Linked DNA regions of Homo sapiens: region 1 is linked to region 2. The links are contacts of gene promoters, found by promoter capture Hi-C in blood cells and fetal thymus (Javierre and others, 2016). All regions are on one chromosome and are shown on one strand. The core of a region is centred on a gene start or on the middle of the fragment in contact, and the rest is flanking DNA. Distances in the headings are between cores, read along the strand shown. Region 1 has its middle 5.9 kb from the start of LINC02168. Region 2 holds the start of SNX20 (sorting nexin 20).

Region 1 (2,700 bases), core at 176-2,675, 130 kb after region 2:
TTATTTATGGTTCTCATACTGATGGAAAGGGGCATTGCTGACAGTTTGGGGCTACTACACATGACCCTACTGTGATCCTTCTTGAATTGGTGGATTTTAGCTTTAGGAGAGACAGCTGCAGACTTTTCCAAAGTTTACACTCCTTCCTTCTTTCATTATTATTTTTTAACCAACTCCACTGAGGTGTAATTTACATACAGTAACATACACATATTTTAAGTAAGCAGTTAGATGAGTTTTGACACATTCATGAATTTATTTTTTATGAGACCAGGATCTCACTATGTTGCCCAAGCTAGTCTCGAACTCCTGGGCTCAAGCGATCCTCCTGCCTCAGCCTCCCAAGTATCTGGGACTACAGGCATGCACCACCATGCCCAGCCAATTTTAAAAATTTTTCGTAGAGAAGGTGATCTTGTTATGTTGCCCAGGCTGGTCTTGAATTCCTGACCTCAAGTGATCCTCCTGCCTGGGCATCCGGAAGCTCTATTACAGGCATGAGCCACCACTCTGGGATCTGACAAACTTTCTGTAGTGTTGAAGTTCAGTGACTTGGAGTAGTCACCTCCAGCTCAAGGTGCATGTGCCTGTGTGTTTTCTCCTTTTTTTGATAAAACCCAGGCTCAGCACAGGGTCGAGAAAAAGACTGAAAGTCAGCCCAGAAAGCAGTGTAGAAAGTAGAAAGCTAGTCTGGACTACCATTAGCATCAAGGACCTCAGTCACTGGAGCCATTGAGATGGGTCCACCCCTTCTCCCTCTCTTTCTCTCTCTCTCTTTTTCTTTCTTTAATTCATTAGCAAGAGGGTCTGTCTCACTATGTTGCCCAGGCTGGAAAACCTGGGCTCAAGCAACCCTCCCATCTCAGCCTCCCAGTCCCAGCTCAATCTTTCTTTTTAAAGTTGGAGAATTTTCTAAAGTTCTCCAACTTTAAAGGCTGCTGCCTAGGGAGGCAGGGCTGCACCCACGGGCAGAGTTAGAGGCAGAGCTGGAACAGAACCCCAGCATGGGAAGTCCGTGTTCACGGGGGGCCATTTCACCCTGGGACATTGTAGGGCAGCTCGAGGCTCTGACTAGGGAGGCCCAGCGCCTGGGGCTGGCGCTTGGTCCGAGCTCTGCAGGCTTTCCTGGGTGGAGAGGAGCCTCTTCCTGCCATGCACACCAGGCCTTCCTTAAGTGACTCAAACACCAATCTTCCTTGGGCTTCCTGAACTGTGAGGATTCCACAGTCTGGCAGGGCTGGTGGCCTCAGCCGTACACTCTGCAGCCAAGAGGGCTCTAGCTCCTGATTCCACCCTGTCCCTCAGCGGCTCCCCAGTGCTCTTCCAGGCCTTAGGCCTGCACCATCCCCACCTCTCCCTCCTCACCAACCTGCCACCTCCTGCCTCAGGTGGACACACTCAGGAGGAAGTCAAGCCTGTCCCTATACAAAAGCCATATTCCCAGGCACTTGCCTGAGTAGAGACGAAGTCTCAGCTCCTTCTACGTGAGCCCGAGGTGCCCACGGTCCCCACACCCCCTCCAGGAGTCCTTGCATTTGCGCAATGCTTTATACTCATCTGTCAGCTCGGCAGTGGGTCCCCCAGAGGGTGAAAACCACATTGTCCCTGTCTCATCAGCAACCAGAACAGGGGGCACCAACTGTGGCCTCCTCCCATATTTGTCGGGAGACTGAATGATTCTCAGGAAGCTGCGCGGCCACCGGCCATTTCACATGGGCATTTCCAAGCTGGGTGCTTTTTGCACCATGCTATTTTGGGCGGGAAGACTTTTCCAGTCCCTTTCTCCTTGGCATGCCACAGAAGAATTTCCTTCACCCACATCTGGATCATCTAGAATTACCCAGTTCAGCCTGTTGCTTTCAATGGCAAACGTCCAGTGCATGGTGTTGGCTCATTTTCATCCCCACTGTCTAGGAGCCCTTGAGCCTTGAGCTTTGGTTCACTATGGGCAGTCTCTTCCCTCCAGGCCTTGGCTAGAGCCAGGCAGGGACAGTGCCCACTCAGGGGCCGATCCACCTCGCTGGGGGCCACCAGTTCGAGCTGGGTGCTCTGTGAAACCAGTCATACCCAAGCTACTGGACTCTGGTCACTCCATGATCCTTGGCAAGATGTCTGTCTATGAACCGCAGTCCCTCTATCTGTAAAATGAAGGATCCTAGACTGGGACTCTCAAGCTCACTTGCCTACAGGGGCCAGGCAGGTACCTTAGGGAAGGGAGAAGGTTGGAGTGTTGGTGGAGAGCTGATATGGTAAAGGAAAGGAAGAAGCAGGCCAGTATATTCTGATTTTTTTTTTTTTTTTTGAGACGGAGTCTCGCTCTGCTGCCCAGGCTGGAGTGCAGTGGTGCGATCTCAGCTCACTGCAACCTCCACCTCCCGGGGTCAAGCAGTTCTCTGCCTCAGCCTCCTGCGTAGCAGTGAGTGCCACCATGCCTGGCTAATTTTTTTGTATTTTTAATAGAGACAGGGTTTCGCCATCTTAGCCAGGCTTGTCTTGAACTCCCGACCTCGTGATCCACCCGCCTCGGCCTCCCAAAGTGCTGGGATTACAGGCGTAAGCCACCGCACCTGGCCTATGTTCTGATTTTTCAGACGAAGTCAGAAATTTCTAAGAGAAGCAAAAGTTCCTGATCTGTACAAATCTGGCAACTTTTCTTTTTTTTAACTCTGTATGTGCCAGACGCGTTTAAGCCAGAGCAGC
Region 2 (2,700 bases), core at 195-2,694:
ATGGCGAGTGGCCTTGGCCTCAGGGGCCCCAGCCTTTGCAGATCTGCTTTCATGACCAGGCAGCTGGCTCCAGGTCAGAAGCAGGGCACTATTGGCCCAGAGACCCTGTAAGACCCTAGAAATGATGCCTCGGCTTGACACTCCAGTAAAGACTGAGAAAGCTGATTATAAAACCAGGCCTTAGAATAAAATCAAATTCAGCAGCCACAGTCAGCTCCCTTATGGTTGTCTCTTACAGGTTTCATTGGGAGTCACCCATTTAAAGAGGAGGGGGAAGGAAAGAGTTGTGCACTGGTGTATCCATGGGGCCTTGGGTAGCTTCCCATCCCTCTCCAGGCCTCAGTTTCCTCATCTGTGAAATGGGAAAGCAATCCTGTCACTCTAAAAGCTCTCTGGGGATAGCCACATAGACGGTTCCATGGCCCTTTCCTTCCCTCTCCTCACCCTCTGTAGCAAAGATTTCTTGACTTTATAACAAAATACTAAAAGTGTTGTTGCTGTTGGCCTGGGGGCCTGTAGTTGGCCCAGGGGACAGAGCAGCTTCCCAGCCTCCTCTGCCTTCCAGCCGTGTGTGCACAGACAGTCATTCTCCTCCTCCTGTCCCCAGGTGTCCTAACCACCCCCTCTCCAAGAGCTGACTGCCAAGTCCAGTCCTTCTTCTGCTGGGCACACAGAGGCCACACTATCTTTCTGAGGGCCTGCGGAGGACTTTTCATGGGGGATGAGCCTCTAGGGGGTGAAATAAAGCACATGGCCCACGCTGGGAGACAGAGATCCCAGGATGTTGGATGTGTGGCTGCCTCTCTTGGGGAAAGGGTGGGTACCCTCCAACAACTGGACGCTCACCTGAGAAGCCTTGCCAAAGCCAGGGGCTCCCAACCCAGTGTGTGTAAGAATCCCCTGGTGGGGTGGGGGTGGGATCCCAGGGGCTTGTCCAAGAGCAGGTTTCCTGGCTGCTAACATAGGAAGGTGCCATTGAACAGGCCTGGATTCTGCATTTTCCATGAGTCCTCTAAGGCTGTGCTGAGGCAGGGGTTCCCTGACACTGTTCTTTTGAGAAACACAGGTGTGGTGACTTATTCTCCAGGCCCAAGATGGGTTGTACAAGCGCCTAGCATTTCAAAAGGAATGGAGGTGATGGAAGGTCCAGGAGCTGTCCCTTCCTCTGCCTCAGTGTGCTAAGGAGAGCTCCAGACACAGTGGCTGTCACTAACTCTTCCCCCTCCCACCCTGCCCCCAGCAGGTGCCAGGCAGGGCCCCAGGAGAAGGGGACTCAGGCCACAGCAGGCAGAGGACAGCTGAGCTTGGGATCAAATACTGACCTCCAGTCTCCAGGGCTGTGTGTGTCCAGGGGTCCGGGAGGAGTGTCATATGGCCCCTTCGAGCTCTTGGTTCTCAGCTCCGGCGACAAGCCGAGGGGCTGCCACTTTCTAAGTTCCCCGTTTGAAAACAGGAAACAGGCTGTGTGACCTGCTTCTGATCGCCCCAGCCCATTGGCTGGTGAAACATGGTATATTGAACTCAACTGCCAGCCTGCCAGCTGTACCCACCTCTTCTTCCGGGTAGCGCAGGGAAGGGCAAGGCGGTGTGGGGCCAGCCCTGTGGGATTTAGCTCAGCCTCACTTTCCCTGCCGCCTTGCAGAGGTCTGGCTGTCCTTCGAGTCCCCGTTGATCTCTGGAATTCAGGCATTAGCTCCCAGAGCCCTTTAACATTCATTATTCTACTCTATGAGCTAGGCATGATGGGGGCCGTCATGCCCCTTGAACAGATGGGAAAACCGAGGCTTGGATCACAGAGCTGGTGGGACACAGAGCCAGTGACTGACATAGAAGAGCAGTGGGGTAGAATTACAGTTCCATCTGGTGCCTTTTCTCTGAGCAAAGCTGTATCCATCACCACCAACAGAAAGTCCCAGGGAAGCGAAACCCCAGGGCAGTGTGGTGTGATTCATGCCCACCCATCTTTGTGGCCTTGAAGGCAAGAAACAGAAATCAGACAAAAAAAAAAAAAATAGAACTTTGCTGGCTCGCCCAGAAGTTTGCCATGTGTTTTTTTTTGAGCCATGATTCCCTTCCTCCCTATTAGAGGCAGTCACAGTCCTGATTCAGATGGGGGTTACTTCTTGGCTTTTCCTTAGAAATTTACCACCTATGAGATCCCCAAACAATTCAGTTTCATTTTACTCATCTGTGAATCTTATATAAATTGAACCATGCATACTGTGTGTATTCTCCAGTGCCTTGCTTCTTTCATGCAACATTTATGGGTATAAGATTCACTGATGCATTTCTGTGTAGATACTTTTTTTCATTTCCATTGTTGTGTTGCTACATTATTATTATTATTTATTTTACTTTAAGTTCTGGGATACCAGTGTAGAACCTGCAGGTTTGTTACATAGGTATATATGTGCCGTGGTGGTTTGCTGTACCTATCAACCCATCATCTAGGTTTTAAGCCCTGCATGCATTAGGTATTTGTCTTAATGCTCTCCTTCCCCCTGGCCCCCACCCCTGACAGGCCCCAGCGTGTGATGTTCCCCTCCCTGTGTCCATGTGTTCTCACTGTTCAACTCCCACTTATGAGTGAGAACATGCTGTGTTTGGTTTTCTGTTGCTTCATTATTTAAATACATCACCATTTGTCATTTTTTGTTTTGTCTTTTGATGCACACTTGGGTTGTTCCTAGGGTGGCCATC

Evidence for each region. Contacts are between HindIII fragments. The CHiCAGO score rates a contact against its expected background, and 5 or more counts as called.
Region 1: a fragment that was not itself captured here is called in contact with the fragment with the promoter of SNX20 in region 2 in 2 of 17 cell types (neutrophils and activated CD4 T cells); the score reaches 6.3 in neutrophils.

What each region holds. Positions count from the first base shown.
Region 1 is chr16:50,811,212-50,813,911 of GRCh38, forward strand. No RefSeq gene overlaps it. Among named protein-coding and RNA genes, the nearest start is that of LINC02168, 5.9 kb to the left of the region's middle. The HindIII fragment of the contact is 5,044 bases long and covers 1-2,700 here.
Region 2 is chr16:50,679,868-50,682,567 of GRCh38, forward strand. SNX20 (sorting nexin 20) reads right to left here and starts at 1,445. Exons shown (of 4, transcript NM_182854.4): 1 at 1,323-1,445. The HindIII fragment of the contact is 15,976 bases long and covers 1-2,700 here.